Linked DNA regions of Homo sapiens: region 2 is linked to region 1. The links are contacts of gene promoters, found by promoter capture Hi-C in blood cells and fetal thymus (Javierre and others, 2016). All regions are on one chromosome and are shown on one strand. The core of a region is centred on a gene start or on the middle of the fragment in contact, and the rest is flanking DNA. Distances in the headings are between cores, read along the strand shown.

Region 1 (3,020 bases), core at 101-2,600:
CACTGTGGACAAGACAAATCTCCAATCTCCAGGATCTATTGGTATACCCAAATAGCTTCGCCTTCCTTCAAAATTTTACCACCTTATCACTTGACGTTAGGAGTTCGAGGCCAGCCTCACCAATACCCATGTCTACTAAAAACACAAAAAAATAGCTGGGCATAGTGTAATCCCAGCTACAGGTAAAGACATGAGAATCGCTTGAACCTGGGAAGCAGAGGTTGCAGTGAGCCGAGATCGCCCCACTGCACTCCAGCCTGGGTGACAGAGCGAGACTCCGTCTCAAAAAAACACAAAACTACCACCTTAGCCCCCAACCTACTTTTCCACGCATCTTTCTCGTTATCCTTTAAACAGATTATTTCTCAGCCAAACAAACGTCGCTCTTTTTCTAGGTACAGCTTTCTTCTTGCTTCCACACCTATGTCAGAACAGTTATAGCCTCTTTATCCTCCCTTACCACTTAAATCCTACCCATCCTTTAGATTTATCCCCGTTTTCCAAACAATTCCTATTGGCTCAAACATTCTGCTTCGGAAGCCCTATTCTGACTTGGCAGGCCTATGGCAGTCTGTTAACTTGACTTTCCGCTTCGTGAGAGGCTTAGGCTCGGATAACCCGTTAGTAACCATGCAGAGGTGAGGACCCAAAGACAGGAACACTAGAAAGCAGAAACTATCCTAAGAGCCCACCGAATTTCCGCTTACATGAGTAACCGAGACAACCGTCAGATGCGCGTGCGCACAGGCCCCGTTCCCAGAGCTCCCCTCGCCCTACGAGGGCCCGGCGGGCCAAAACAGAGGCCCGCCCCGCCCCACCCCACGCCTCACCGCGAAGTAGCCCAGCCCCAGGACTGTGACCAGAGAGGGCAAGGGTCTTGCTGGACGGAAATAGGCGGTAGCCGCATTGCTGGCCTCCGACTTCACCATCCTCTTGAAAAACCCAGACACAGAGTTGGCTGGGAGCTCCCCAGCCGTCCCCGCCCCCATATAAGAAAAGCCTGGCTAGCCGGTTTCTCAGGGCCCTGGGCGCCCGCCCAAGACCCTGGCGGACCAGTATGCTTGCTCTCATTGCGGAGTCTGGTCCCCTCCCCTCCGCTCCTAGCGCGCGGGAGTCGGGATTGTGCTTGCACGACTTCCCCCGGCCCGCGGCCTGTGAGCCCAGGTCCTGGGGTGAACCGAGCGCTCGCTCGTTCGTCAGACCGTAGCGCTCCAGCGGCTGTCCTTACTGTGTAGTAGCCAAAGCTGAGGGTGATGACTGTGAACCAGAACAGACTGCCTCGCTGAAAGTAGGTCGCGCCGGCTGCCGTAGCCATGGCTGCAACACCTCCCCGGGAGCGCGCTTCAGGACACCGTCGAGCGCGAGCGCGGAGGCAGGGCCGGGGCCGGCCCGCGCTCCCTCGCCATCCCCGCAGGGAGAAGATGGTGCTGGTTGGGAAGTCCCTGAGAGCGAGTCTCCCTGTCTGGCCCCAGTACAGGGGCCTTGGAATCACACCTGGGCTCAGGTCTGGAGGGCTGGTCATCATCTTGTAGGGGAGACACTCCTGTCACTTTTCTGGGTTTAAGATAAAGATGTTCGGGCTGGCGCGGTGGCGTGTCCCTGTAATCTCAGCACGTTGGGAGGCTGAGGTAGAAAGATCCCTTGAGCCCAGGAGTTTGAGACCAGCCCGGGTAACATAGCTAGACTCTGTCTCGAATGAATGAATGAATGAATGAGGTGTTGGAATAAATTCCAGCAATTTGGGAGGCCGAGTCGGGCAGATCACTTGAGGTCAGGAGTTTGAGACCAGCGTGGTCAACATGGTGAAACCCCGTCTGTACTAAAAATACAAAAAATTTGCTGGGCGCGGTGGTGCCTGCCTGTAGTCCCAGCAACTCCAGAGGCTGAGACAAGACTCTCTTGAACCTGAGAGGTGCAGGTTGCAGTGGGCCCAGATCACGCCACTGCACTCCAGCCTGGGCAACACAGCAAGACCCTGTCTCAAAAAAAAAAAAAAAAGATGGTGTTTTACTAAGAGTCTAATTTTTGAAGTTCTCTGTGCTGTGCACCTTGAGAAATAATGCTGTCCTCATTAGTTAAGATGTTTGGAACTATACAGCACCATGGTTATGAGCAGGGACTGTGAAACAGGCTGCCTGGATTTAAGTCCTGGCTCTGTCTCGGCTATTTGTGTAAGCTTAGATTAATTACTTAGCCCGGCTGTGTCTTAGTTTCTGTATCTGTAACATGAGGATATGCCAGTTTTGGGAACCTCAGGGTTTTTAGGGTGGGTTAAATGAGTTGATATCTGTAAAGAAAGCACAGCAGTGTCTGGCCCATAGTGCTTTGTAAGTGTGGGTGATTATCAATACTGCTGAGCCTTTAGCATGTGTGCCAGGCCCTGTGCGAACTGTTGTATCATCAATGAGCTGTGGGAGGTATATGCAGCTGAAGTGTCTGATTAAACACTATTTAATCATAGAAATAGAAAATCATAGAAATAGAAAAACTATTTCACCTGGGCCTTAAAAATGGGTTACTGGCCAAGCGCAGTGGCTCAAGCCTATAATCCTGGCACTTTTGGAGGCCGAGGTGGGTGGATCGCTCAGGAGTTCGAGACCACCCTGGAGAACATGGTGAAACCCTGTCTCTACTAAAATACAAAAAATTAGCTGGGGGTGGTGGCGCGTGTCTATAGTCCCAACTACTTGGGAGGCTGAGGCACGAGAATTGCTTGAGCACCGGAGGCGGAGGTTGCAGTGAGCCGAGATCCAATCACTGCACTTCAGCTTGGGCTATAGAGTGAGACTCCGTCAAAAAAAAAAAAAAAAAGTTACTATACTGTAGCTGGTATTTATTGAACACCTACTATGTTCAAGGCATTGTTCTAAGTACTATACAATAATTAACTAATTTAATTCTTAAAACAATCCTAGGCAGTAAACTATTGTCCTTATTTCAAAGAAGAAGAAACAGCACAGGGTCCTGTCATGCCCAAGTGGGTGAGGAATACTGGAAAACAATTGGCAGCTGAGTGTTCC
Region 2 (3,111 bases), core at 485-2,984, 600 kb after region 1:
GAGGAGGCTGTTCCATCAGGTTCAAACTCATCCCTAAATGACTTTCCCACCCCCAGCCTTCATATTCTGCCACCCTCTGGCTTCCTTTTCTTCCTCCCTCATCCCAAGTCTTATCTGCAAATCTCAGCACTCCCAAAGGCATGTTTTAAGAGCCAAGTGGAGCCTTCCATCTGGAATGAATTAAATCACTGACAGAGTTATGTCCCCAAGTCAGCAGGAACTCCAGGAAGGCTTTGGGAAAAGACCAGACCTTTCCTCCTTACAGGAACTAACTCAGAAGAAAAATAATGTGTTGGTAAGAGTTGCCCAAAGTTGGGGGAGCCGGGAGACGGATGAATTGAGCAAATCTCTTGCTAGATGTGTGCCCCATGCAGGTTTTCAGAGTCTCTAGGCCTCTTTTCTCACCTGGATAACAGGAACTGTGCCACGTGGGGATTAAATGAGCCAAAGCTTGAGGAGGTGTTGGTAATAGTGCTACCTGAGAGTGGGTGCACAGTCTACGTGTGAGCCTTCTTTCTTCTCTTATTCTTTTTCTCTATTTTTGTTTTTACTTTTGTCATAATTATCTATGGACGTAGTTTAAAAGACAAATTATTCTTTTGCTATGACAAGAACCAGTTTCCTACCCTGTTCCCACTGTTTCTTTTTCCCCAGAGGCAATCACTCTCAACTCTTTTTACAGTAATTATTCTGGTATTTACTTTCATATTTCGAAATAACTTGTTTGTGTTGATACTTTTTGTATTTTCCATTTCAAGACTTACCAATGGACTTTCTACTGTGAAAAATAAGAGTCTGGTCTCTTTGACATACACCTCTCCTATCCTCTTTGCCACCCCTCTCTCTCTCTCTCACACACACACACACACACACACACACACACACACTTCCTGTGCTGCCCCCCATCTTCCCATTCTGATTTTGTTGTAATTTTGGTTAGAGCCATTTTCAGGATTCACATTTATTATAGTGTAAACACTATCGACAGCTGAGACATAAATTATATCACAGTTACTTTTTCTCTTCCAAACAGTATTTTCTCCTCTGGAATTAATCATTATCATTTTGTTCTATTTTTTTTAATGTTTTGTAGACTTCATTTTATCTGCCAAAACACTAATTCAGCTGTGTAAATCTCCTCTCAGTGTGTTCAGCCCTAATTGAGAATCTAGCATTTCTGTCTTTTTAGAAAAATTCCTTCTAGGCCCCTCTGACCAGCTCCTCTTTGGCTGCCTGTCTCCGGGCTCACTGCACAGTTGGCCACAGGGATCTTCTTTCGCCTTTGTTCTTTGTCTCTCTTGTGTTACATCTGTTTTCTGGATGCCAAGTCTTTCTCTTTCTTCGTTTACACCCTCATTTTGGGTGGGGCGCTTCTTCTAGTAGCTCCTGCAAGTGGGGGCTGTTGAGGCAAATACCTAAAAATATTCTTACTCTACCCTCACACTTGATTGATAATTTTGCTGGACATAGAATTTGAGTTTGAAAATAATCTGCCCTCAAAATTTTGAAGGCATTCCTGCACTGCCTCCTAGCTACTGTGTGCCTGGCAAAGTCTAATGCCCTCGCAATGACTGATTCTTTCTATGTAACCTGTTTGTATCTCTGTCATCTTTAAGCATCTTCTTCTTCCTCCAAATGTTCCAACATTTCATCATCTTGTCTCTTGTTGGGGATCTATTTTCATCAATTGTGCAGGACTCCTGCTGAGTCTTTTTGATCTGAGAATGGATGTCTTTCAGTTCTAGGAACATTTCCTGAGTCATTTTTTGATGACTGTCTTCCCCAGCATTCTCTCTGCTCTGTTTCTGGTGCTTCTATTGGTCAGATGTTGGACCTTGAACTTGTCCTTTGATTTTCTCATCTTTTCTTTCTTGATTTCAATGTCTATATTTTTTTCTCTACTTTCTGACAGAGTTTCTGAATTTCATTTTCCTTTCTAATGAATCTTTTTCTTTCTTAAATTTACACATTCTTGTTTGAAAACTTAACAGATTTTTTTTTTTTAAGACAGAGTCCTGCTCTGTCACCCAGGCTGGAATGCAGTGGCACAATCCTGGCTCACTGCAACCTCCGCATCCCGGGTTGAAGCATTCTCCTGCCTCAGCCTCCCAAGTAGCTGGGACTACAGGCGCGAGCCACCAAGCCCAGCTAATTTGTGTATTTTTAGTAGAGATGGGGTTTCACCACGTTGGCCAGGATGGTCTTGATCTCTTTACCTCCTGATCTGCCCGCCTCAGCCTCCCAAAGTGCTGGGATTACAGGCATGAGCCACCACTCCTGGCCAGCAGATCTTCTTTCCAGAGCAGTTTCAAGTTTCCAGACAAATTGAACAGAAAATCTAGAGCTCCCCCACAGCACCTCTTCCTCCACACACAACTTCCCCAATTAACATCATGCATTAGTGTGGTACGTTTGTCACACCTGATAAGCTAGTATTGCTATATTATTATTAACTAGAGCCTCTAGTTTACATAAGGGCTCAGTCTTTGTATTGTGCATTCAATGGGTTGTGACAAATATATGTCATGTATCAACCATTACATACTTCATGCAGAATATTATATTTTCAATCCCCTGAAAAAATGTGTTCTTCCTACTTATCCCTTCCTTCCTCTGACCCCCAAACTTTAGGCAGTTGAAATTATTAGCTTCTCTATAGTTTTGTCTTTTCCAGAATGCCATATTTTGGAATTATATTGTATGTAGCCTGTTCACATTGGCCTCTTTCACTTAGTAATATACATTTACGGTTCCTTCATGTTTTTTCCATAGCTTGATAATCATTTCTTTTTATCACTGAATAATATTCCATTATATGGATATACCACAGTTTGTTTATCAATTCACCTATTGGAGGATAACTCAGTTACTTCCAGTTTTTGGCAATTATGAATAAAGTTGCTGTAAACATTCGTATAAAGGTTTTTGTGTGGACATCAGTTTTCAACTCATTTGGGTAAATACCAAGGAGCTAGATCATATGGTAAGCTCATATGGTTAGCTTTGTAAGAAGCTTCCAGATTGTTCTCCAAAATGGCTATGCCATTTTCCATTCCCACCAGCAATGAATGAGAGTTCCTGTTGCCTCAGTTCTCACCAGCATTTCAGGTT

The links. The method cuts DNA at HindIII sites, captures the fragments that hold promoters and counts their contacts. A CHiCAGO score of 5 or more calls a contact.
Region 2: a contact is called between a fragment that was not itself captured here and the fragment with the promoter of TMEM254 in region 1, in 3 of 17 cell types (M0 macrophages, M2 macrophages and erythroblasts). The highest score is 7.4, in M0 macrophages.

What each region holds. Positions count from the first base shown.
Region 1 is chr10:80,076,995-80,080,014 of GRCh38, reverse strand. TMEM254 (transmembrane protein 254) reads right to left here and starts at 1,350. Exons shown (of 4, transcript NM_025125.4): 1 at 1,229-1,350. The coding sequence starts at 1,315. It overlaps TMEM254-AS1 (TMEM254 antisense RNA 1), which reads left to right and starts at 822. Exons shown (of 4, transcript NR_027432.1): 1 at 822-1,288. The HindIII fragment of the contact is 2,319 bases long and covers 1-2,178 here.
Region 2 is chr10:79,481,085-79,484,195 of GRCh38, reverse strand. No RefSeq gene overlaps it. Among named protein-coding and RNA genes, the nearest start is that of EIF5AL1, 30 kb to the left of the region's middle. The HindIII fragment of the contact is 2,563 bases long and covers 453-3,015 here.